Linked DNA regions of Homo sapiens: regions 1, 2, 4 and 5 are each linked to region 3. Evidence: promoter capture Hi-C in 16 types of primary human blood cells and fetal thymus (Javierre and others, 2016). All regions are on one chromosome and are shown on one strand. The core of a region is centred on a gene start or on the middle of the fragment in contact, and the rest is flanking DNA. Distances in the headings are between cores, read along the strand shown.

Region 1 (5,010 bases), core at 1,809-4,308, 220 kb before region 3:
TTCTGTGAAAATTTACTGCATTTTGCACTTCTCTGTATATGTATTACACTTCAGTAAAAGTTTGCCTTAAAAGAAAAAGTAAAGATAACATGCAACTATTTTCTAAATGGAAAATTTCCATTCAATCAAGTTACTGTTTAAAGTGGGGAGGGAGTCCCCGATATTTTAACAAATGGTCCTAACATTTAGCTACTGCGTCTTCACTGAGGTCTGTGGAGGCTGCAAGTGGTGTCACATCCTTAGTTCTCTGAATCATCGAAAGCTTCTGTAAGGCAATTAATTACTCAGACAAACATTTCCTTCCCAAAATAAAACAAAACCAAGATGTGGTATTTGGTGTTCCAGGGGACACACACACACACACACACACACACACACACACACATACATATTTTAAATAGAAGCTCATTTGATCTGTAACTTTTTATCTACATCTCAATATTTAGAAGAATTTTAGGTATTAATAGATGTGACATGCAAATGAAGGTGTCTTCTTGAAACATTCATATTTTGTGGTGGGGTAGTTTTATTGATAATGGCAAGAATATTTTTGTGTAACATAGCATAAAGGCATCTTTAGGCAGAGCTTAATGTTTTTTTTCCGACATGTGACAAATTCAGTTGCACTTATTAGACCTATTATTAATCTGCTTAAAGCTTTTCAGTGTATTCCCTGTTCACCAGCAGGTTTGTTCCCAGAACCTGGCACTGTAGACCCTCTGTGACCTAGTTGCCTATCTGCACAATCATCTTTAATGTTATTTAATCAACGTTAATCTTATTTGGGAGGAAACACAATGTGGCTGTGTGTTAGTATGTTAGGGATGCTGTGGCTGTATAACAAATGGAGTGGCTTAAACAACAGAGGTATGTTGTCTTACAGTTCTGGAGGCCACACATCCAACAGCAAGGTGTTGGCAGGGTCGTGTTACCTCTTTTTCATTTCTTTTTGAGACAGGGTCGCCCAGGATGGTGTGCTATGGCATGATCATTGCTCACTGCAGCCTCAATCTCCTGAGTAGCAGGGACTATAGGCATGCATTACCATGCCTGGCTAATTGTATTTTTTGTAGAGACAAGGTTTTGCCATGTTGCCCAGGCTGATCTTGAACTCCTTGGCTCACACTATCCGCCCACCTTGGCCTCCCAAAGTGCTGGGATTTCAGGCATGAGCCACTCCACCCAGCCTCATGTTACCTCTGAAGGCACCAGGGAAGGATCTGTTTCAAGCCTCTGTCCTTGCTTACAGTAGTTTGCTGCTTTGTGGCAGCGTAGTGGTGATCTTTCATAGCATTCTCTTTGTGTACATATCTCTGTGTCTATCTACATTTTTCCTTTTTGTAAGGATGCCAGTCATATTGGATTAGGGCTCACCTTACTTAATGTTAACTAATCACACCTACAGTGTAATTATATTTTCATGTGTCCTTATTTTAGTTACATTGGCAATGATGACCCTGTTTTTTTTTTGTTTGTTTGTTTTTTTTTGAGTGGCGGGGAAGGGTCTCACTCTGTTGTCCAGACAACAGTGCAGTGACATGAACACGGCTTACTGAAGCCTTGAACTCCCGAGCTCAAGTGGTCCTCCTGCCTCAGCCTCTCAAGTAGCTGGAACTACAGGTGCACGGCACTGTGCCCAGCTAGTTTCTAATTTTTTTTTAGAGAAGGGATCTTGTTTTGTTGTCTAGGCTGGTCTTGAACTCCTGGACTCAAGCCAGGAGTCTTGCCTCAGCATCTCAAAGTGTTGAGATTACGGGCATGAGCCACTGTGCCTGGCCTTACCTGTTCTTTAATAAGGTCACATTCTGAGCTATTGGGAGTAAAGACTTCAACATACGAATTTTGGGAAGGACAAACTCATCCTGTAACAGGCAGGAAGAGCTTTGTTGTTAGGTAGACTCAGGTTCAGGTGTTTCACATTTGAGAGCTTTGTTGTTAGGTAGACTCAGGTTCAGGTGTTTCACATTTGAGTGACATCTCCTCAGTTCTCTTAGTTGTATGTCTTTGGAACAGTTGGGAAAATGTAGTTCTTATTTTCAGTCACATTATAGTGAACTTTTAGTTATGGATTACATTAGTTAACTTTTAATTTCTTCTGTTTCTTTTGAAATTTTATTTCATCTTTTAGTTGATTGCCTTTTCATGTATATTAGGAAGTTATTCAAATTCCACGTATGTGAAAGACAATTCTTTAGCACATAAAAACTTATTACTTCGTGAGGATAGAGGAAAGAGAAAATACTAAAGTTATTCTAATTAGAGAAATGGGAAGTGATATTTGAGACAAATTAATCATATCTTTTTTGATTTTATAGGGAAAGGATCATTAAGTATCATGAAACCTGTACTGTAGTTGTTCTCTGCACCAAGCATTGGCCACAGATTGGCATCCCATGGGAGTTGGTTAGAAATGCAGAATCTCAGATTCCGCCCCCAATCTGCTGAATCAAAATCCATGTTTTATATAATAAGATGTCCAGGTGATTTAAACACACGTTTAGATTTGAGAGTCACTAATCACTCATTAGTGCTTCCCAGTCTTTTTCAAGCTAACGCAGATATAAAATGAGTCCATTGCATGAGGTGAGAGGATTAGTACCCAGCATGCTTGTCACTTACCTGTGGCAGACTACAAATTAGGCAGATCAAAAATTAGAGAAAAAATATGTGATTTCATGGCTTGAGATTTTGACGTTAAAATATGATGCATGCAGTTCAAGAAGAACAGAGGTGGCTGCAGAATTACATTCTGGCCAAATTATTGGGAATAATTTGCATCTTCTAAAGTGCCTGATTGCAAAGGGCACTGTGAACTTGGCTGTAAATAGTAAGGGAGCTACAACATGGGTGACAACCAGTTTTAAAGCACCTTCTATCTACTGGATTTGCTTTGAGTGTGTAATTTCTAGTCCTTAGAAAATTCCTATACAACCTAGACATTGTTTCCCTGCTGTACAGATGAGGAAACAAAGACATGGAGGCCAAAGTCACACAGCTGGTTTGTAAAATGGTATGGGCCTGTGAGAACTGGTTAAAGCCAAGAATGAACGGACATTTGCATAAAACCCTGAAGAGAATACAAAAAACAAATAACCTGTGTGGAAGAAAAAAGAAGAGATAGACTGATTTCTTCGAAAATGCAAGTGATATAATTACTTTGCTCTTTTTCTCTTTTCTCCTTTTACTCCTAAAATTATTTATAGCTCTCCTGTTGCCAAAAATTGTATGTCTAGTCAGGCACAGTGGTGAGCATCTGTAGTCCCAGCTCCTCAGGAGACTGAGTTGGCAGGATCACTTGAGCCCAGAAGTTTGAGGCTAGCCTGGGCAACATAGTCCATAAGGAAACTATGGGAAGTAAGCTGAGAAGGTGAGTAGTAAATTGTTCAAGAATACATAGGCTAATGGTGATTACTGGATTTTGAACCCTAAGTAACTGAAAGAGAAATACACATTTTTCTATGATCTAATAAAAAGCAAGCATGTTGTATGCATGAAAAGTTTTTTGATGCAAGGTGGTGTACATTGATCACATAACACAAAGGGCAATGTGTTGTTAGAGTGGCTCACATAATTACAGGCTTCCCCCATAATGGTTGGGAAGCTGGAAAAAAGCCTCCAAAACCTACTTGGAACGAGAGCGTTCAGGTACTTGGTTGGCGGGAACTACTGACCGTTCCAACCACATGCTATAACTGGAATAGGGCCCTTCAGGATCTTCCTGTCCTTGCTGTCACTCAGCTCAAGATTCACAGTTCCAAAAGAGTAAATATAGTATGTCTACCTTGAATTGCATGCACATGTCTTGTATAAAAAAAGACAGAAACCTGGATTGATTGCTTTCCCAAGCCTGCACATGATGGGGCTAAAGTTATTCCCCACAATGAGCTTGGGAAGCAGTTTGGTAGGGGAAATAGATGTGGGCTGGCCATGAGACCTTGTTATTGCATATGGATATTTAGCAATAGTTTGTTTTGCTTTGTGTGTGATAGGTAAGTAAATAGAACAGTGAGGTCAATAGAATGTGCACTTTATGCTGGTTCATGTGCAACTTTTGCTAGGCAAGAGGAGTGTGACCAGATGGAATAGAATTATAATATATACTTTAATGGTATAATGTGGGATTGTATTTTAGCAGGAAAGGAAAAAAATAGGTGAGAATTTAAACTTTCACTCTGGCTGTTGCATCAGCAGGAGCTTTCTCATTTCTATTGAAAATGAAATGAAAAATGAACACCTGTCCCCTGGGGTTCCCTCCCCAGAGAGGCACACGCTAACATTATGCTCTGTGGCAGGTTGCCCTGTCTGCTGTGCTCACCTTCACAAAAACCCCCAGATTACTGCATTGTTTTGGTGCCTTCAAGCCAGCATCTGTTGTTTTCATGTATTCTCAGTATCACCTTTGGCAGCGTGCAGCCACTCTTGGGTAACTGCCTGGGTTTCTTATTTCTTAAGTATTGATTTTTAACAAAATAGCCATCTGATTTCAGAGTTGCATAGGGTTTGAGTAGTCTGCTTTTTACCCTGTATTTTACGTAAGTCCTTTCATTTTTAGTGAACATTTTTGCTGAATATGTGGTCTTCCCAGTAACATATATTGTGTTATAGCAGAAATATCTACATAAGAAGCAGTGAACCACAGTGTGTTCAAAAACTGTGTTCCAGAGGAAACAGAAATGTTCTTTAGGTGGCTGTTTAAAAATTGGGCTCAATAATGAGCAAAAACATGTTGAAAGGTCAATCTTTGAAGGTATTTTTATGAGCAATTAATGATCAGATTCAGGAATGCAGCCTGGTGATGACCTACTCATGGATTCCACTCTTCTACCTCTTAACTTTCCACCTTCCTGGGGCCAATTGATCCAGAAATTGTTTGAGCCCACTAGGATTTTCAATTCTTGGATCCCCCCACCTTTCACAGTCACTCACACCCATGGCATCTTCCATTTCCATTTCTGTTGTGTGTCTTTTTCCATGCTGGTTGGTTCCAGCAGGACAGGGATCTTTTTCCCC
Region 2 (5,574 bases), core at 2,673-5,172, 130 kb before region 3:
ATAAACAGATTCAAGACTGGTCTCCTTTTGTTTCCTGAAATAAGCAGTTTAGAGGGGTAAGGTGAGAGGGATCTATTGATGGGTGTTTTTAAAAAACAAAACTTGACCTCATAACTGACTTATGTATTGTTGTGGTCCTGATGGTAATTGTGTCTCTCCCTATCTACGTGTCCACCCGTTTACAGGGGCTTTTGGTCATGGGTATGATATGCACTTGTGGCCACCTGAAATCCTGTTCCTAATGCTGTTAGATTTTCCTTTTCAGAGTAAGAGGGACCATCTCCTCATGAACGTCAAATGGTACTACCGTCAATCTGAGGTTCCAGATTCTGTGTATCAGCATTTGGTTCAGGATCGACATAATGAAAATGGTAAATATGTCCTTGTGGTTTGATTTGTGTGTTTCTTAGCTTTGGGCAAAGTTCTTTCTAAAGACATTTCATTAAATGAAGATAACTTTTTGAAAAATGGATTTTGGAGTGTTGGTAGGCCTTATGCTTGATGATTCACATTGGCTACCAGTTAGTCACGTGAGGTGGGTCTGTCCCTCTCTAGTTCCAGATGAGGAAACTGAGGTTGAGAGATGCTAAGGACGTTGCTGGGGCCATGCATTGTCTAAGTGGCAGTGCTGGCGCTGGCATCAAACTTTGCCTGGCCCTGATCCTGCTCCACTTTTCTCACAGTCAACAAACCAATGAAAAACAGCTTGGAAGAATGATGTTCTTTTTTTATCTTTCTGTTTTTTTTTTTTCCTTCTTTGAAACTATAAAAAAACCTCTGTTAAAGCGTGTAAATTATAGTTCCTTGTTAAAAATATTCTTATCAATGGAAACTGTGTAAGTTCACTCCATTTTGTAATATTTAGCAAGAAAAATAAGACAGGATCACTAAGTATTTTGGTAGTTGAAGGAGGTGCTAGGATAAGATAGTTGTTTTTCTTCTTTTTCCATTTGTGCTTAATCCATTTTGGCAAAATATAGGGTCTTACTAAGGGGTATAAAACATAGCCAAGAAGATACTTTGTTGACAAAAACTGTACATTCTGTTATTGTTATTCTTGCAATTTATGATTCCTCTTCTCTATTTTGCATACTTAACGATGCTAACCAGGCCCGGTTATTTAGTGGGTGGTAAACGTGAAAGAAAAGTTTTACAAATTTTTTTTACTTGTTTTGGGAAACTCAGTTTTAATGTCGTCTTAATTAATTTTTTGACAGACTCTGGAAGAGAACTTGTCATTACAGACCCAGTTATCAAGAACCGAGAGCTCTTCATTTCTGATTACGTTGACACTTACCATGCTGCTGCCCTTAGGTAAGTACTGGAGACGTGCTCTTCCATGTGAAGGAGGAGTCACTGAGTGCAGGAGGTGGAGAGTAATTTCTCCTGATCTTTTAGTAGTCACTGTATTAATCAGACTCCTCTTTTGGCCTCAGTGAACATGCCAGTGTCCGCTCTGGATTGTTGAGATTGCAGAGGTTCTCCGTGTCTTCACTAATCTAGCTTTACTTCTCTCTCTCTTTTTTTTTTTTGATAATTTACTTTTTAATGCTGTTTCTATATTATTGTATCTTCATTTCCTTGGAAATTATTATCCTGGTATTGTTTGCTGAAGTATGTGGGTGAAATGTTCCGATGGGCCAGGTGTGGTGGCTCACATCTGTAATCCTGGCATTTTGGGAAGCTGAGGTGGGAAAAAGTGTTCTGATGGTCTGCAGTTTACTTTCTAAAGATTTAATTCCTGCCACTAGAAAAGACAGAGAAATGGATGAAGCAGATATGGCAGCGTGTAATTACTTGAGAACCCAGGCAAAATTTATAGAGATTTTCATTGAACTATTCTTCCATTTTCTGTATGTCTGAAAAATTTCCTACTATACAGCTTCATTGGCAGGGGGAGGAGATGGGTAGAAAGATATTGAAGATTTCATTCTGAGGCAGAAGGTAACATTCCAGCCAGTCATAATGTCTTCAGAAATTATGTCAAAAAAATGACCATGACATTTGCATCTTTGGGTATTTTCTGTCTCTTTCAAGAAAAGGATGCCCATAATGGCTCATTTTGTGTGTGTATGGCTGACTTTGTGCCTTTTAAGTGGTATAGGAAGTAAGACTACTGATATTCTTAAAACCCTTTCCTCACTGGAAATAAAGTGGTGAAAGACTACTTTTTTTTTGTTAAGTACTGTAATATGGTTTTAACAAAATACTAGGATTTTGGTAGCTTTTATCTTAAAACTACAATGAGTTACAATAATTTCTCCATTCTGATGCTCAGATGGTATTCAGGAAAACCACCTGGAGTCTTTTTTGCAAAGCTACATAGCTAAAGTCAGTTATTTCAAGGTAAATTAGTAGCAACTTTAGGGCAGGCTTTGGCAAGCTTTTCGGGTCAGCTGATGTTTCACATGGTATCTGTTGCAGTGACTCAGCTCAGCCATTGTGGCATAAAAGCAATAGACAACATGGAAATAAATGAAGTGGCTGGGCTGCAGTAAAACTTGATGGATATTGAAATTTGAGTTTCATTTAATTTTCATGTGTCAGGAAATATTCTTCTTTTGCTTTCTTTTTCAGCCATTTAAAAATGGGAAAACTCTTCTCTCAGGCCACAGGAAGCAGGCGGTGTGCCAGATATGGCTTTTCTGGCCATAGTTTGCCAACTCTGCTGTGGGGTATGGCATGGATGTAGTTAGGTTTGACTTCTTACAGGAATTTAGATGAATTTAGAGAGTTTCTCAGTGTTTTATAAACTTCTTGTGAACTTCCACAAGCTTTGTGTGACTTTTAAGATTGGCTTTCCAAGCTTAAGCTCACTTGCTGAACAAAGGAAGTTAATGCAGGGTTGATTATATTGATGGAACAGTTAAATTGTTACCTGGGACCAGTGACTTAATCCTGGAATATTGTTAGCTGGGACCAGTGACTTAATCCTGGAATATTGTTAGCTGGGACTGGTGACTTAATCCTGGAATATTGTTAGCTGGGACCGGTGACTTAATCCTGGAATATTGTTACCTGGGACCGGTGACTTAATCCTGGAATATTGTTAGCTGGGACCGATGACTTAATCCTGGAATATTTCTTGTCTTTTTTTTTTTTTTTTTTTTGAGACAGGATCTCGCTCTGTTGTCCAGCCTGGAGTGCAGTGGTGAGATTATGGCTCACTGCAGCCTCAAACTCCTGGGCTCAGGCAATCCTACCTCCCCAAGTAGCTGGGACTACAGGTGTGCACCACCACACCTGGCTAATTTTTGTATTTTTCATAGAGATGAGCTTTTACCATCTTGCCCAGGCTGGTCTTGAACTCCTAAACTTAAGCAATCCACCCACTTTGACCTCCCAAAGTGCTGGGATTGCAAGTGTGAACCACCGCACTCAGCCAAATCCTGGAATACTTCTTACACTGGTTTGCATACTCTTTCCTTCCTGTTTCCGTCTTGTCTCACGGGTTGAGGGAAAAGATTTTAATCGATTTAGAGTTTCAGTTGAACAAATATGTGAGATATGTAACTGTATTCAACATGTTTTGACATAAATGCTTAAAATCAACATATTTGAGTACTTATCATTGGTATTGAGATTTGTAGAATCTTTTTTTCTGAGACGGGGTGTTGCTCTGTCACCCAGGCTGGAGCTCAGTGGCTTGATCTTGGCTCACTTTACTGCAACCTCCGCCTCCTGGGTTCAAGTGATTCATTCTCCTACCTCAGTCTCCCGAGTAGCTGGGACTACAGGCATGTGCCACGATGCCCAGCTAATTTTTGTATTTTTAGTAGAGACAGGGTTTCACCATCTTGGCCAGGCTGGTCTTGAACTCCTGACCTCAAGTGATCACCCACCTCAGCCTCCCAAAGTGCTGGGATTACAGGCATGAGCCACCACGTCTGGCCCATTTTTATCTTTAGCATTTTTAGAAGAACAAGTTATCCTAAATAATTCCATCTGATTTCCATGAATTTACTGTAGCTAAGTTTACAATCAGATGTTTCTTGGAGATGTGTAAATGTGTAAGTCACTGTCCTTTCACTGGCCACCACAGCTGGAGTGCTACAGTGGTAATACTTTATCTTCTTTTCACTGGGTATATAATTATAATCCTCATTAATTAGTTTTTTTTTCTCCTGTGGTGTTTTCTTTAAAGTGGTCATAAAAAGTGGTAGCTGCTTTATAAAACTTTTACCTTGAATTTGATTTTGTAAGTGTCAAATACAACATCCTTTTGTGACTTGGATTTTTTTCAAAGACATCAGATGACAGGTGGTTGTTTGGTCACTGAACAAGCTGGCCTAATGGTGCAGTGTCGCGTGAGTGTGTGGATGTGCTGATCCAGTGGTGCAGTGTCACGTGTGTGTGGACACGCTGGCTTTGTGGTGCAGTGTCTCGTGCATGTGGACGCGCTGGCCTAATGGTGCAATTTTACGTGTGTGTGTGGATGTGCTGGCCTAGTGGTGCAATTTTGCATGAGTGTGTGGACGTGCCGGCCTAGTAGTGTAGTGTCACGTGTGTGTGGACGCACTGGCTTAATGGTGCAGTGTCTCATATGCATGTGGACATGCTGGCCTAATGGTGCAATTTTGCACGTGTGTGTGGACGCACTGGCCTAGTGGTGTGTCGCACACGCATGTGTGGATGCACTGGCCTACTTGTGTGGTGTCACGATTGTTTGTGGATGTACTGGCCTAGTGGTGCTGTGTTGCACGCGTATATGTGGACACACTGGCCTACTGGTGTGTCACGTGTGTGTGGACATGCTGGCCTAGTGGTGCAGTGTTGCACACATGTGTGTGGACGAGCTGGCCTACTGGTGTGGTGTCATGAGTGTTTGTGGACTTGCTGGCCTAGTGGTGTGGTGTCACGTGTGTGTGAACGCACTGGCCTAGTGGTGCAGTTTTGTGTGTGTGTGGACGTGCTGGCCCAGTGGTGCAGGGTCACACGTGTGTGTGGACGCACTTCCCTAATGGTGCAGGGTCGCGTTGCTGTCACTTAGTGATCCGGCCTCGCTCTTGGCAGCAGCGCTCACTGTGAAAGAAGCTTTGCCTGTCCCATTACTCCCATAAAACAGAATGGGATGGCAGTGCCCCCCAGCAGTCTCTGTTTGTTCTCTTTCTCTTCACGAAGGTAGATTAGCTTAAAAAATGTTTGGGGTGTATTTGGTGGGGGATGGTTAAAGTTAAGCTTTACCTTTTTTTTCCAATTTTCTTCTCATAGTTTATTCACAGAAATAATTTATTCTTTCTCCATAGTTATAAACCAGTACTACTAAAAATAAATTCAATTTTGAGAGAGATACAAATAAAATAGTCTGTGGGCACATGAAAAGGGATCAAACAAATGTAATGAAAAAAACCATGGGGAACAAAAAAGAAAAAAGAAAAAGACTGATCATGTTAGTGCTTAGCACCATTCTTCTTGAAGATCAAAGGGCTCGGTTGTGTGGTTTCATCCGGTCACAGTAACTCTGAGGGGGCTCTTGCCATTCCATTCACTCAGGAGGAAACTGATGTATAAGGTTTGCTTTCAAGCTGGTGCTAGAGTTGGGTTATAAAGGAGGAGAGAGAGCTTTATCCTTTA
Region 3 (5,240 bases), core at 1,965-4,464:
TCTCTTTCACGTGTGACCCCTTCCAATCATTGACTACTGTGAGTGGTCGTCTTTGTTTCGATTTTCAGGGCTACTCTACATTTCTGGTAAACCACAAGCTAAAGGCTGGTCTCTGAGAAGCAGATGTTTTGCTGGTTTTGAGGCCTTGTGGCTTTCCATAGAGAAGTAACAGTACAGGCCACATGAAGCTTTTACTTCCTTTTTTTTTTTTTTTTTTTTTTAAAGTGGGGCCAAGGGTGCTTTTGCTCTTGATAGCATTATATTGACATACATTGACAGCTGTGGTAGGTCTGTGTTCACCACCAGATGTCAAATTCCTATTTCTGGAAGTAATTAGTTTGAGATACCTGTGAAACGTTCAAGTTGAGTGTTCCCAGTGGACTTGGACCATAGATTTAGTCTTAGAAATACCAGTGACAATCTCGAAAGATATTTAGAGCCAAGGGAACAGTGGAGATCATATGGGGAGAGGATATATATAGCAGAAAGCCCTAGGACAAAGCTTTGGGGAGACTCCAGCATTTAGAGGTTGAGTAGAGAATTAGGCCAAGTGGTATGAGCAAAACTAGGAGAGTTTGGCATCATGGAGCAAGAGGTCAGCTCTGTTAGGAGAGTTCAAAATGGACCTTCTGGCTTTCAACAGTCCATTTCCACTGTGACCACCCTAGCCCAGGCCCTCAGCATCTCATGGTTGGTTTCACTTGTCCGGGTGCGGTGACTCACACCTGTAATCTCAACACTTTGGGAGGTCAAAGCGGGAGGATTGCTTGAGGCCAGGAGTTTGAGACCAGCCTGGGCAATATAGTGAGACCTCATCGTTAATAAATAAATAATTTTTAAAGGAGACAAAAAATGTGGTGAGCATCAACTGCCTAGTGTTATATGGAGGCACTAGGTGTAAGATGTAATTATTTTAAGAGTTTATGGACTTTTTGGGTAAGCAGGCCTTATACAAATAAATAAACTAATGAGAGAGTAACTGGACATCTGGTTTCATTTGGGAGTAGGAGAGATTTTGAGGTGAACGTGGAGATGCCTTACCCAGATTCTGGAGTTGAGACAGAGGTCCCCCAGTGTGGGCCAGTTGGCATTACTGGACATCTGGCTGGAAAGGTGGGCAGGGCCAGGATCCTGGAGGGCCTTGAATTCAGGGCTAAGGAGTGTAAACACTGTCCTGCAGAGACCACCATGCTGTTCTTAGGTAGGGGCTAAGGGCCAGATAAAGTGGGACTCAGGATGAAATCTATAGTTGGGAAAAATTCCTTGGCAGAGGCTTTTAAATGGCTGGATGGGGGAGATGGTTAATAGCCTAGTTATTAGGAAAGAGAGATAAAGGTCTGGCCTGGGACTGCCACTAGCATGAGCAGGAAAGGAGGGCGTTGAAAGACACTTTTTTTTTTTTTTTTTTTGAGACAGAGTCTCTGTCGCCCAGGCTGGAGTGCAGTGGCGCAATTTCGGCTCACTGCAAGCTGCGCCTCCCGGGTTGACGCCATTCTCCTGCCTCAGCCTCCCCAGTAGCTGGGACTACAGGCGCCCACCACCATGCCCAGCTAATTTTTTGTATTTTTAGTAGAGACGGGGTTTCACTGTGTTAGCCAGGATGGTCTCGATCTCCTGGCCTTGTGGTCTGCCCGCCTCAGCCTCCCAAAGTGCTAGGATTACAGGCATGAGCCACCGCGCCCGGCTGAAAGACACTTCTTAGGAAGAATACTGAGGACTTTATGATTTGACATTGGACCCGAGAAGAGGAAAGTACAGACTCATAGAAAATGGTAACAGAAAATAGTTACCACTGTAGACGCCTGCCTGCATTTTACAGAGTGTGGCTCTGAGGATTTGAGGGGGCTTAAGTTTGAATTCTGGCTTTGTCTCTGAGGAGTTGATCTAGTTACCTATCTGTGCCTCAGCTTCCTTGTCTGTAAAATGGGGATAATAATTGTACTTCTTCTTAGGTTGTAAAGATTTCGAATTAATATATATGAGGCTCCTGGCATATAGTAGGTACTTAGTAACTATTGGTTGAATGGATGATGTTCAAAGGATTGCATCACAATAAATGGAAGAAACAGGATCTGAATTTGTTTGTCCAACTCTGCCACCTTACCCTGATGTTCCAGAGTCAGCCTTTCTCACATGCTGCCTTTATTGTGTAGGCCTCTTTTACTGGACCTGTTAGATGTCACTTGGTATCAAGCCCACGTTCCGATTGCATGGTCCTGGCGTTCCACAGCCTGGCTCACTCCAGATTGCCCGCCCCAAGTCTGTGTAGACTGTCCCCTGTAACCCACCTCCCATTCTCCACCTCTGACCTTCACGGAGGGCCCGGTCACCAAGCCACCTCCCACCCCTGCAATAGTTGCCCACCCCTTGTGATCTCGCTGATGTCACTGCCTTGGCGAAGGCATTCTGAACTACTACAGACCACTGCAGTCTAGCCTTCTTGGGTCCCTTGCTGCACTGATGAGCTGCACCTCACTTCTTTATGCTTGGCCAGATGACATCTCAGAATGTTCTGTAATGACTTCACACATACTTATCTTACGTGCAAAAATGAATCACAGTTCAGTAAAGGTCCATGGCAACCTTTATTATCTTCCTAGACCCCTCTCAGCTAGGTGCTCAGTAAATACCTGAATACTTGAAGAATGGATTAAGCGGCAGGAATTCTGATTACTGAGGTGGAGTGTGCCAGTAGTTGAGGTCCTCATCTCATACCTGAACTGTGTCAGCAGCCTCTTTAACTGGTCTGTCCCTAATCTACACTTAGGCCACACTGCCACTGGCACAGTCCTCATCCAGTCTTTTCATGGAAAGCTCCAGCTTCAGCCTTTCTGCCAGCCTACAATTAGGAACTCTTCCGTGCGGCCTGAAGGGCTCTCTGCAACCGGATCCTTGCCTGCCTCTTTCGTCTTATCTGCTGGCACTCCATTCTGCACACCCTGTCCTCCTTGCAGTTCCCAGAATGTTCCCTGTGCCTTTTCCTGGCTGACTTCTGCTGGAAGCCCTGCTGGAGCCCACCTGGCAGGCTCACACTCTTCCTTGTCACTTCCTCTAAGACATCAGCAAGCAGAGTAAGTTGCTTCCTCTTCCTAGCTTCACCCACCACCCTTTGTTCCTCTGCTGCTTTTCTTGCAGGCCCTAGGACTGGTTTGTTTACCTGTCTGCCTTCCTGGGCAGACTGCAGCTCCTTGAGGGCAGGGCCATCTTTCCGTGCCGTCTCTCCCGGTGATATGCTGTGTGCACACAGCGTAGGATGCCTGTTGATCATATAAACGATACTTTTGTCAAGTAACAAAGGTCACTCCTCACACTAGAGGAGAGCTTGCTGCTTTCTTGTGCCTTGAGAGATTTTCCCTTCGAACTGTATGAATTATATTGAAAATTGACAATGATGAGTCATATCTCAGCAAGGGTGAAATTCAAAAACGCAAAGCCTCCACTACTGGAGTAGGAGGTTGCAGACTGGTCTTAAAAGGCTAAGTCTGGCCCTTCACTGAATCCGCCTGGCGGGTCTCAAACACAGGGAGTGGGAGGGACCCTCTGCCCGGTGGGCAGGTGATTTATTGGCTGGGAAGCTTCCGCGGTGATTTAGTTGTGAAGCGGCGGCCGGGGAAGTGCAGGCTAATGCCTGGGCCGCCAGGGAGAGGCCGCCCACAATCGCGGGCCGGAAGGGACCGCGGGGGGCGTCGGGGCCAGCCCCCCGTTTCGCAGCTGAGGCGGGGTTGGGGCGGAGGGCGTGCGGCCGGGGCGCAGCCGACTTCGTCCATCCGGAACGTGGGCTGGAGACCCAGCAGCCTGGGAAGGGCCCCAGCCCTGTGGGCGCCCTCTCCCCACGCTTGCTGCGGTAGGGAGGAAGTTTCTGTGCTTTACCGCCTTGATGTTCTCCTGTCCGGAAGGAGGACACAGATTCCAGCGCCGGGTGCCCTGGAGGCTCCGGCCTCGGGGTGGGGGTCGGGCCGGGGGCGGGGCCGGGGCCGGGGCGCGGGGCCCCGGCTGGCGGACAGGAGGGCGGCGGCAATCCAGGCCGCCTTTTGCAGCCGCCCGCGGCCGCGCCGGGCTCTGCGCGCCGCGCTCCTGCCTCCTCCCCCGTCAGCGGCGGCCCCAGCCCCGCGCCCCCCGGGCCCCGCGCCGCGCGGCCCCGCCGCGGTCACACGCCGAGCCACCCGCGGCCGCCTCCGCCCTGCGCTTTGTGGAGCCGGAGCCCAGTGACAGGCGACGGCCTCTTGCCGCCCCGGACCCCGGGCGCTTACCTGTGGCTGCTGGGGTCGGCCGCCCGGGACCAGGCTGGGAGCCCCGAGGTGGGGGCTCGGAGCCAGGAGCTGCCCCCACCGGGGCGGGGAGGGGTGCTCGGGAGGCATGGGACAAAGTGAAAGTCTCCGGGCTGGGGTTAGGGACGAGTCTGCTGCGAAAATGGATGGGGGCGGCGAGTGGCGTCGGGAGGGCGGAAGGGGTGCTGGTTATTCTCTGGTGTCTCGGAGTGGCTTTTAATGACGGACGGTGGGGCAGGCCCGCTGGCTTTCGTGTTCCCGGTGGGCTTCTGTGATACTGGTGCCTTCCGGTGCCTCCTGGCAAATTCTTTGGATTAAGGAAAGCGGCCTTTTAACCCCCTAGGGTTCCCTTCTGGAGAAGAGTCACCGGGTTTGGTTCTGTTTCCCCTTTCTGCTCGACACTTCTGGGAAGCTTGGTTCTCAGGTGGGAAAGCAGTTGTGTTTTATTAAAACATGGAGCATATTTATACCTTCGTGCACCAGAATGTGTGCCTGGTGGAAGAGGGGGACAGATTGCTTCTTAGCCTCAGACGCAGGACGTCCTTCTCTTAAACGCGCTGCCCTGCGTGGTGGGTGGGATTGGGGTTCTGATGAAGGTAGCTGGGGCCTGCCCTGGCCAGTGGGTCCCAGCTGAGCTGCTGACATACTCTCCGAGCCTCGGCAGTATTCCCTAGCCGAGACTTTTTTTGTGGTTGTTATTCTGCTGATTGTAGATATCTTTGCTTTGCTGACATCCTGTTTTGTTTTTGGTTTTTACATCCCATTTGTTTCTTTTTATCACAGAAACGCTTCGTTAAGGGACTCAGGCAGTACGGGAAGAACTTCTTCAGAATTAGAAAGGAGCTGCTTCCCAATAAGGAAACAGTGAGTACAATTGGACTTTATGTAACTTGATTTTTTCCTCTTTGCTCCTGCTGCCTCTCCACATTTGATCTTATGAAATGGTTTCCTTTAACCCTGCGCTGTGCTCAG
Region 4 (4,952 bases), core at 1,615-4,114, 150 kb before region 3:
GTTCAAGCCATTCTCCTGCCTCAGCTTCCTGAGCAGCTGGGACTACAGGCGCCCGCCACCGCACCTGGCTTTTTTGTATTTTTGGTAGAGACAGGGTTTTGCCATGTTGGCCAGGCTGGTTTCAAACTCCTGACGTCAGGTGATCGCCCATCTCGGCCTCCCAAGTGCTGGGATTAAAGGCATGAGCCACTGCACCCGGCTCCTCTTTCCCTTTTAAAGTGCATGTCCAGCCTCAGCGGTATATCTCACAATGAATAAGATGTAGTGATAAGCTATTTTGATTCTAGGGCTTGTTTTATAAGGTAGCATTGAGTGGAATATCTTATATTCAGTGAGATACTCTAGATCTCATATTTGAAGGCTCTGTGCCTATTCACTTTCAGAAACATTGTGAGCATTTTTAAGCTCAAGTGATCTGTGTCAGCATGATGAGTATGGGGGGCCAAGGAGTATGTGATTTTCTTCTACAGGCAGTTGAAAACGTGTAACTTCTTTAAGTTTTAAGTGTAAAAGATTGGTCACCAGACTGTTGGCATGACCAACTGTAATTATACAGGCTTGTTTCTGTTCCGTTTTATTCTCTTAACAGTATATGGCTGATGCAGGTTCCAATTCTGTTGGTCAGACACCATCTATCCACTGGAAGGCTAGCTACATAAAAAAGAAAGAGCAGCAATATACTAGGATAGAAAGAGAGGGGAGAGAGAGAGAGCAAAGGCCTATGACATAAACAAACACCCTGTGAGTTTTTAAAAATAGTTTTTGAATAGGTAATACATTTATATAATTTAAAAAAACAAAAAAATTCAAAAGTCATATGAAATTTCTTTCTTTCATCTTTTTTTTTTTTTGAGTCTCTCTCTGTCGCCCAGGCTGGAGTGCAGTGGCGCCATCTTGGCTCACTGCAACCTCCGCCTCCCGGGTTCACGCCATTCTCCTGCCTCAGCCTCCCAAGTAGCTGGGACTACAGGCGCCGCCACCACGCCCAGCTAATTTTTTTGTATTTTTAGTAGAGACGGGGTTTCACCGTGTTAGCCAGGATGGTCTCCATCTCCTGACCTTGTGATCTGCCTGCCTCGGCCTCCCACAGTGCTGGGATTACAGGCATGAGCCACCGTGCCCAGCACAAATGTATCTTTAGAATAAATTTCAATAAGTGCTGGAGAAACAGATGAATATGTTTGTAATTTTGGTAGATGTTGCCCAGTTACTCTTTCTATAACACAATTGTGCCAGCTTATGTTTCTGTAAAACATAATGACAACCCTTTTCCCATAACCTGGCCAGCAGAGTGTTATCAACTTGGATATTTGCCAGTATGAGCAATATATTCTTCATATAAGTTTAATTTGCATTTTTTTATTATGGTTTTATTCTTTACATTTCAATCTTTGACCCATTTAGACTCATTTCAGATCATTTTGAATCATACAGTATGAGGTATAGATACAACTTAATTTTTTTTAGATGACTTTCTAGGAATCTCTACAAACTCATTAAATAGTTCATCTTTCCCTGCTATTCTGTAATTTAATCTTTATTATGGACTAAATTCCTGAAACTAATTTTTAACTGGCTGGCATTAACATGCTTTTATCCTTACAGTTACATGTAACTTTCTTCTTATTTACTGAGTTTTAACTCTGATTGTTTGTCAAAATGGCTTTTAGTGACCACTGCCTATGGTTACATATTTTTATAATTGGCACTAAAATTTATTTCTCCAGTCTTTTATCTAACCCACCCCATGCCTATAGAAAAGGTGCAGGTACAACACAGAGAACTTTTTTTTTTTTTCCCTAGAACCACTGGAGAATAAGTTGCCAAATAAATACCCCTTTACACACTGATACATAATGGATGTGTGTTTCTTACAAGGACATTTTCTGATGTAGCCCTCAAGTCAACAATCAAACCTAAAAATTAACATTAATAACATTATTACTGTCTAATCCTCAGACCCTGTACACATTTTGGCTTTTGTTTCAATGCCCTGTGTAGGGAATGGATCTAATCAGAATTATAGGTTATATACTTAGTTATGTTTCTTTAATCCTCTTCATTTTAGAACAGTTCTTCAGTCTTCCCCTGATTTTCATGACCTTGACACTTTTGAATATTGCAGTTCAGTTACATTGTAGAATGTTTCTCAGTTTTCATTTGTATCGTATTTCTTCATTATTAGATTCAGGTTTGGGATCTTTTCCTTGTACCCTGCCAAGTAGGGCACAATTTTGGTTCCTTCTGTTACTGGCATTCACTTTGATCACTTAAGATTGGGTTTACAAGGCCCAAAAGTTAATTATAAAGTTATTTCTTTGAGGTGGGCACAATGGCCCAAGTCTAATCCCAGCACTTTTGGAGGCCGAGGTTGGGGGATTGCTTGAGCCAGCAGTTAGCGACCAGCCTGGGCAACATAGTGAGACACTGTCTCTGCCAAAAAAAAAAAAAATATATATATATATATATATATATATATTAAATTAGCCAGGTGTGGTGGCACAGGCCTGTAGTCCTAGCTACTTGGGAGTCTGAGAGTGGGATGTTGAGGCTGCAGTGAACTGTGATTGCACCAGTGCACTCCAGCCTGGACAACAGCAAAACAGTGTCTTTAAAAAAAAAAAAAAAAAGGTTACTTTTTTCATCCTTTGTTATCAGTTAATATTTTATGGAAAGGTGCCCTGTGACTCTGAAAGTGTCCGGTTATTTAGCAACTATTCACTTTATTCATTTACCTATATCAGCAAGGATGCACGATTTCTGGTTTTCTTTGTAGTTTCTACTCTATTACTAACATTATGTGTTGATTCTCAAGTTGTTCTAGCAGAACTAGTCCAGCAGGTCTGTCCTTTCAGGCTGAGTTTCGCGTGTCTTTCACATTCTTTGAGCACTTTCTTACTTTTTGGTATAAGTTGTTTTAGGGTTCTCCTCCTCAGAGGCAACAATTGTTGCCAGCTTCTTGTATCTTTCCAGAGATACTTCATGTGCATACGTGTTAATGTGTATATGTGTATGTAAATTTTAGCATTTGCGAATTAGACTTTTAATTTTAGAAAGATGTTAATTTTTAATTTCATAAATTAGACTTAATTGAAGTCTAATATATATTCATGAAAGAACATTCTAAATAGAAAGCTCAGTGAATTTTCATATAGTGAACACATCTGTCTAACTTCTGGTATCAAGAAATAAAATGTGTGCACTCCAGAGGTTACCCTCGTGCCCTCTCCTAGCCACTAACTGCGTAACTACTGCTGTGAGCTCTGCCATCACAGATTAGTTATGTCTGTCTTCGTACTTCGTATATGAAGGGAATGAAATGCAATATATATTTGTTCGTGTCTGATTTTTTTGGCTTAGCATGTTTGTGAAATTCATGTTTTTGTAAGTTGCAGTATTTTCATTTCTATATAATATTGCAGGTGGATCATGAGGTCAGGAGATTGAGACCGTCCTGGCTAACATGATGAAACCCTATCTCTACTAAAAATACAAAAATATATTAGCCGGGCGTGGTGGCGGGCGCCTGTAGTCCCAGCTACTCGGGAGGCTGAGGCAGGAGAATGGCATGAACCCGAGAGGCGGAGCTTGCAGTGAGCCGAGATCGTGCCACTGCACTCCAGTCTGGGCGACAGAGCGAGACTGCGTCTCAAAAAAAAAAAAAAAAAAAAAAGACTATATATAGATCATAGTCTTAACATATTTCAGAGCATTGAAATCATACAGAACATGTTCTGTGACCATAGTGCTACTAAGCTAGGAATCAAGACCAAAAGGAGTACCTGGGAAATACACAGATGTGTAGAAGGAACCCAGATTCTTCTAAATAGTCTGTGGGTCAAATAAGAAATCACAGTGGAAATTAGAAAATATTTTGCAGTGAATTATTAATGGAAATACAACACATTGGTTGGGCACGGTGGCTCATGTCTATAATCCCAGCACTTTGGGAGGCTGAGGAGGGAGGATTGCTTGAGCCCAGGAGTTTAAGACCAGCCTGGGCAACATGGTGAAACCCCATCTCTATAAAAAGTACAAAAATTAGCTGGGCGTGGTGGCATTTGCTTGGAGTCCCAGCTACTCAGGAGGCTGAGGTAGGAGGAGAGCTTGAGCCCAGGAGGTCAAGGCTGCAGTGACCTGTGATTGGGCCACTGCACTGCAGCCTGGGTGAGAGTGAGACTGTCTCCAGAAATAAAAGGCAACACATCACAGTTAATGGCTTTATCTAAAACCATGCTTAGACATAAACTTTTTTAGCCTTTAATATATATTTAAATTACTTAGTAAGACACTGTGAACAACATTTTACCAATACCAAAATTTGAACACTTAGCTGTGATACCAAACATTCAGAGTAATCGAAATAATTTGAATAGAAAAGTTTTATGTGTGAAAACATATATAGGAATACTTATTACAACCAAGGTTGTAATGGTGGAAAACTGGAAATGACCCAAATGTCTACTATCAGGAAAATGTATGAACACATTGTGATGTGCTGTATATGAAGGTAATACATGTCACTTAAAATAAGTGAACTAGGGCGTGGATGGATCATGTAAGTGTAATGCTGAAAGAACAAAGCATATTATAGAAGAACTCAAAGAGTCTAGTGTCATTTATGTACAGTATAAAAACATGCAAAATAATACCTTATGTATTTTTAGTTATATATATATATTAAGTAAAAGCATGAAGTACTGGATGGGAATGATCAGTGAATTCAAGGTGGTGGTTACCTCTGGGCTGTAGGCAGGTTCCACAGGCAGCTTCTTTAGGTTCGATAATGTTTTTGTTGCTTTAGGTATGTTTGGTACAGATGGTTCTGTTATTTTTATACCTTTCTGCCTGTCAAATATTTCATAATAAAACTTTAAAAAGAAAAATAAGAAAGATAAAGCAAGAAAGTAGAGCCACCTTTGGGAGTTTTCATGAACACGCTCAGGATAGCA
Region 5 (5,073 bases), core at 2,226-4,725, 240 kb before region 3:
TATTTCCCTGTGAAACAGCAGGGGGAGGTGTTTCCATCCTATGTGTCTTCTAGCGTGGAAATCAGCCAGGAAGGACTTCAGCGGTTTGGATTTTATTAAATGCAGTATTTGGTAACATCATTAATACAGAAGTTGTCCATAGGCACCCGTTTCCTATGTAGACGGCTTCTCTGTGAATAAAAAAGTGTATTCTTTTCAGAGCATCGTCATGTAGTCTTTCCATCATTCTACCATTTCAACTTCATTGGCAGTTTACAGAACGTTTTTGGCCTGTCCATAATATTCATTGCAAAGCATTCTTTGCCATCTTGAATATTTCATCCCTAGTAGTTTGTTTTGATACCATCCAGCCCCATGGTTATTAGTACTTGTGCACTGAGGACTCCTAGATTTAGGTCTAGCCCAGAGCTTTCTGACCACTCAACACATACATCTTAATACATTCCAACAGAATTCCCAGTTTTTGTTCTCTTTGCATGTCAGTAAATGACTGTAGTTGCTTGGATTTAAACCTTATTGTCTTCCTTGGCCTCCTTTTTTCTCACACCACGTGCGCTCTGTTAGCCACTTCTGAGGGCTAGAATCTGACCACTGCTTAACACCTTCACTGCTACGACCTTGCCTGAGTTGTTTCCTAAGGAGCCAGAGGGAGTCTGTTAAAATGTACCTCGGATTGTTACTTCTCTATGCAAAACTCCACCATGGCTTTTCCCTTATTTGAGTAAGTACTGAGCTATCTCTCCATCTCCAATTCTTCTTGCGCTCACTGCTTCAGCCACCATGTCCCTTTGCTGTTGCCTGGACATGCCAGGCATGCTTCTGCCTGAGTCAGAACTTTGTGCTTGCTTTTCTCTCTGCCCAGAATGCTTTCCCCCACTTTAACCATGTAACTTGCACCTTGCTTCGTTTAGGTCCAGTGATCCCTTGCCAGTGATTACCTTAAATTGATGACCTCTCCATGGCCATTGCCCAGCTTTATTTTTTTTCTATAGCACATCTTATGGCCAACTTACAGACTGTGTCTGTAGTAATCTACTTGTTTGTTTATTGTCTGCTCTCTCCCCCACTAGATTGTAATCTCTCTGAGGTTAGAGATTGTGTGTGTTCTGGACATAGCTCCTAGGCCACCTAGTATGAACTCAGTAAACATTTGCTGAAATAATGGGGGAACTGACAGAATCTCCTCTGGAGATTGATGTTTATTTGATGATCAGTGTTATAACTACATTTAAGTGTTATGTTCTAGGTCCTGGGACTTCTCCTGCCCTCCCTGGTTAGTTACTAGTTGCTGGCATCTTAATTGAGTTGTTCTAGTGGCTCTTCTGCTTTTCTTTTTGAATGACATCAGGTTAACAGAGAGAGCAGGGTTAATACATTTGGTCAACCTAGAATCACACCCAGTTAGAATGGCTCAGACATAGAAAACAGCAAATTGAATTTTGACTGAGACTTGTGTTTTTAGTCAGAGCCAGTTTGCCTTTTATCTTAGACTTAGAGATTCTAAGTGTTTAAAAGAGCTGCTCCGATGAGTTTTGTGGTTCCATTTTTCCTTTGATATAATTTGTACCTGTGGATTAGAAGTGCATTTTGAATGCTTTTGATTTTTTTCTATAGGTGTGAAGTGTAATTGTATTAAGTTAAATATAAAATTCACCCTGTCATTTCCTTTCATCACACGCTGAGAGCTTATGTGCCATGGTTGCAAATTACTTTGAATCTTAGAGCTTTGCAAACTGAAAGAAACCCTGTCCAACTTAATCTACTTTTGAACATGCTATACAGAGATAGTAAGCCTGACCAAGAATTCCTGTATATTAAAGATTACCGTGGTCCAAAGAAGGCTCTCTTTCATTCTCAGCATTACGTGAAATAAAACTCTACTAGTTTAATTGACTGTGTTTTTACAGCTTTAAAAGGTGGTTTTTCTCAGTTGCAGAGGTAAAGCTCATCCTTGTGAATTTCGTAGCCAGATGCACCTTTGTTTGGCTGTAGTGAAGCCTGAGCTTTTTCTTGTTAGTTTGTAATTCAGTTGCTGCTGCTGCTGTGTGTTTGTTTTTAAAACAGCTTTGTTGAGATATAATTCACATGTCATATAATTTACCTATTTAAAGTGTACAATTGGCTGGGCATGGTGGCTTATGCCTGTAATCCCAGCATTTTGGAGGCCAAGGCGGGCGGATTGCTGGAGGGCAAGGCAAGCAGATTGCTTGAGCCCAGGAATTTGAAACCAGCCTGGGCAACACAGTGAAACCCCATCTTTGCAGAATACAAAAAAATTAGCCGGGTGTGGTGGCATACACCTATAATCCCAGCTACTGGAGAGGCCGAGTTGGGGGGGGTATTGCTTGAGCCCGGTAGGTCAAGGCTGCAGTGAGCCGTGATCACGCATGCCACTGCACTCCAGCCTGGGTGACAGAGTGAGACCCTGTCTTAAAAACACAACACACACACACACACACACACACACACACACACACACACACACACACACACAGAGTTGAGTGCATTTTAGAATATTCACAGAAGACAGAGTGAGACCCTGTCTTAAAAACACAACACACACACACACACACACACACACACACACACACACAGAGTTTAGTGCATTTTAGAATATTCACAGATACTGGCAACTATCACCACAATCAATTTTAGGGCATTTTCATCATTCCCAGAAGCAGCCCCATAACCATAGCAGTTACTCTGTATTTACCCTTGCAACCCTAGGCAACAAGTAATCTGCTCTCTGTCCCTATGGATCTGTCTTTTCTGTACATTTATTACAAGTGGAATCATATAGTATCTAATCTTTTGTGACTGGCTCTTTTCATTTAGCATAATGTTTTCAAGGTTCACCCATGTTGTAACATATATCTGTACCTCATTTCTTATTGCTGGATATTTTATTGTGTGTATGTATACTACACTTTATTTACCCATCTGCTTGTGTTTTGCATTTATCTTTTCCACTTGGTTTTCTGTTTACAGCCATGCTTTGGGAAAGTGAGTTTAGGGATTCTTTTCCCCTTTCAAGATCAGGGATTTGGTTTCATCGGCATTTGGCTTCCCTTGCCCTTGGCATTTGTGGACACCAGGTTTTCTCTTTAGTTGTGTGACAGCGGAAGCTTCCACTTGACCCCATGACCAGAGCAGGTCACCTATGAGTAATTCTGTTCCTAGCAAGCTTCAGGACTTGCCAGTAAACAACAGAATTTTCAGGATATTTGATTATGTTCTCCTAATTCACCCTCAAACATCTGTGGAATTACTGTTTCAAGCAATACTTTGAATTTGTCTAGTTTATTTCAGAGAACAAAGAACATGGCAGACTATAGTTTTCGTAATGGTGTTTTATGGATTGCATATTAGTGAAGCATAATTTTGCATGAAGCAACACAGATGCTTAACCCTTTGAAATCTCTGCAATAGGCAAATAATTTGTTTAAAGCAGTAGTTCTCAACTGTGGGCATATTTGCTCCCCAGGGGATATGTGGCAGTATCTGGAGATATTTTTGTAGTTCTCACTGGAGCAGTGGGTTGCGTTGTTAGAATCTGTATGGGTTGAGGCCAGGAATGCTGCGAAATATCCTACAATGCACAGGATAGCCCCCCACAACAAAAAATTATCTGTCCCCAAATGTTAATTGTAGTTCAGTTGAGAAGCCCTGTTTAGAGTGAGCAGTGTATTTCCCTTAACCTGCTGAGTAGAAGAGACACAACTGTTGGCAGTGTACAAGCTAACTGTATATAATTGGAAAAGCTTCACATTTAAAAGTATATGAAAGCAGTTATTTGTATGAATGAGTTTGTGTGGGTTTTGTTGTTGTTGTTGTTGTTTTTTGAGACGGAGTCTTGCTCTGTTGCCCAGGCTGGAGTGCAGTGGCGCCATCTTGGCTCACTGCAACCTCTGCCTCTCAGGTTCAAGCAATTCTCCTGCCTCAGCCTCCCAAGTAGCTGGAATTACAGGCACGTGCCACCATGCCCAGCTAATTTTTTGTATTTTTAGTAGAGATGGGATTTCGCCATGTGGGCCAGGCTCGTCTCAAATTCTTGACCTCAGGTGATCCTCCTGCCTCGGCCCCCCGAACATGCTGGGATTACAGGCATGAGCCACCACACCTAGCCGAGTTTGTGTGTTTTTTAAAGAAAGACAGGATTTTAAATTTTTATTGGAAACCTCCTGGGGCACCTCATCTTTGGGAATTTTTGCTTCAAATAATAAAGATTATATATCGTTTCTTACTTGGTTTTAATTGGGTTGTTAATTGTAGCCTTGAGTTTTGCTGTTTTGGGTACTTTTGCACCCTCTGCAGTGGTCTTGTGTTTTGTTATTAGTATGTCTTTTTGGAAGAAATTGAGAAGCCTTATTTATTAGAGTCTTTTAATCTTAGTTCTCTCAGTTGTTTCCCCAAAGCTCAAAGGAGATGAGGAAGTGCTACTATCAGCATTAAACCCAGTCCTCATTAAAGGGTTTATTTTTTGCTGCCTTCTGCTCTGATACCACAAAGGCTGCTCTTTGAATTTGACCTGGGCATCCCATTGCAGTTATTTAGGTTCCTTAAATAAGCCGTATATTCTGAGAATGAGTATATAAACTCTTAGCAGGATTGATTGAGTTTACTCATTAACCTCAGAGGTAGAGAATCGTGCAGGGGTATATGTAGCTCTTTGCTTATGTGGTTGGTTTGGGTCAGGTGGAAGAACTTTAAAACATGGAAAAACTCTCAATACCACATAACTTTCAGATAAAAAGCTGTTTTATTTCTGTCTGAGTTTGCAGATCTGCTGACTTCATATTTCAGTGATATCTTGCAGCTTCATCTGCAATTCTCTGGCATATTTTGAAGTATTCTCTACATCAGGTTACTGTTTATGAGAATGCCTTACTTCTTATTCAGTGAATACAAGTGTTAGAGTGACATTTCCCTTTCCAGAGCAAAAGCCATTACGTCTTCTTTCCCAGGCATGTTGATATGAAAGGCAACAGGAAAGGAAAATTGATTTCCCTTTGGAAGCAAGTCGCCCAGCTGTAGGGTGCCTGTTTGGTTTTCTGCTGCATGCTGGCTGCAGCT

Evidence for each region. The method cuts DNA at HindIII sites, captures the fragments that hold promoters and counts their contacts. A CHiCAGO score of 5 or more calls a contact.
Region 1: a fragment that was not itself captured here is called in contact with the fragment with the promoter of RERE-AS1 in region 3 in 1 of 17 cell types (total B cells); the score reaches 5.8 in total B cells.
Region 2: a contact is called between a fragment that was not itself captured here and the fragment with the promoter of RERE-AS1 in region 3, in 2 of 17 cell types (naive B cells and activated CD4 T cells). The highest score is 5.7, in naive B cells.
Region 4: a fragment that was not itself captured here is called in contact with the fragment with the promoter of RERE-AS1 in region 3 in 1 of 17 cell types (naive B cells); the score reaches 5.3 in naive B cells.
Region 5: a contact is called between a fragment that was not itself captured here and the fragment with the promoter of RERE-AS1 in region 3, in 3 of 17 cell types (total B cells, endothelial precursors and naive B cells). The highest score is 6.7, in total B cells.

What each region holds. Positions count from the first base shown.
Region 1 is chr1:8,643,017-8,648,026 of GRCh38, reverse strand. All of the region lies in intron 2 of RERE (arginine-glutamic acid dipeptide repeats), which reads left to right. Among named protein-coding and RNA genes, the nearest start is that of SNORD128, 150 kb to the right of the region's middle. RefSeq lists a silencer at 4,249-4,378. The HindIII fragment of the contact is 4,798 bases long and covers 660-5,010 here.
Region 2 is chr1:8,552,215-8,557,788 of GRCh38, reverse strand. RERE (arginine-glutamic acid dipeptide repeats) reads left to right here. Exons shown (of 23, transcript NM_001042681.2): 5 at 266-371; 6 at 1,218-1,314. Among named protein-coding and RNA genes, the nearest start is that of SNORD128, 60 kb to the right of the region's middle. The HindIII fragment of the contact is 2,228 bases long and covers 2,809-5,036 here.
Region 3 is chr1:8,422,619-8,427,858 of GRCh38, reverse strand. RERE-AS1 (RERE antisense RNA 1) reads right to left here and starts at 3,214. Exons shown (of 4, transcript NR_125999.1): 1 at 3,158-3,214. It overlaps RERE (arginine-glutamic acid dipeptide repeats), which reads left to right. Exons shown (of 23, transcript NM_001042681.2): 12 at 5,052-5,132. RefSeq lists an enhancer at 1-96 and silencers at 3,625-3,764, 4,075-4,414. The HindIII fragment of the contact is 3,073 bases long and covers 505-3,577 here.
Region 4 is chr1:8,573,062-8,578,013 of GRCh38, reverse strand. All of the region lies in intron 4 of RERE (arginine-glutamic acid dipeptide repeats), which reads left to right. Among named protein-coding and RNA genes, the nearest start is that of SNORD128, 81 kb to the right of the region's middle. The HindIII fragment of the contact is 8,245 bases long and covers 1-4,952 here.
Region 5 is chr1:8,666,446-8,671,518 of GRCh38, reverse strand. All of the region lies in intron 1 of RERE (arginine-glutamic acid dipeptide repeats), which reads left to right. Among named protein-coding and RNA genes, the nearest start is that of RERE, 150 kb to the left of the region's middle. The HindIII fragment of the contact is 577 bases long and covers 3,187-3,763 here.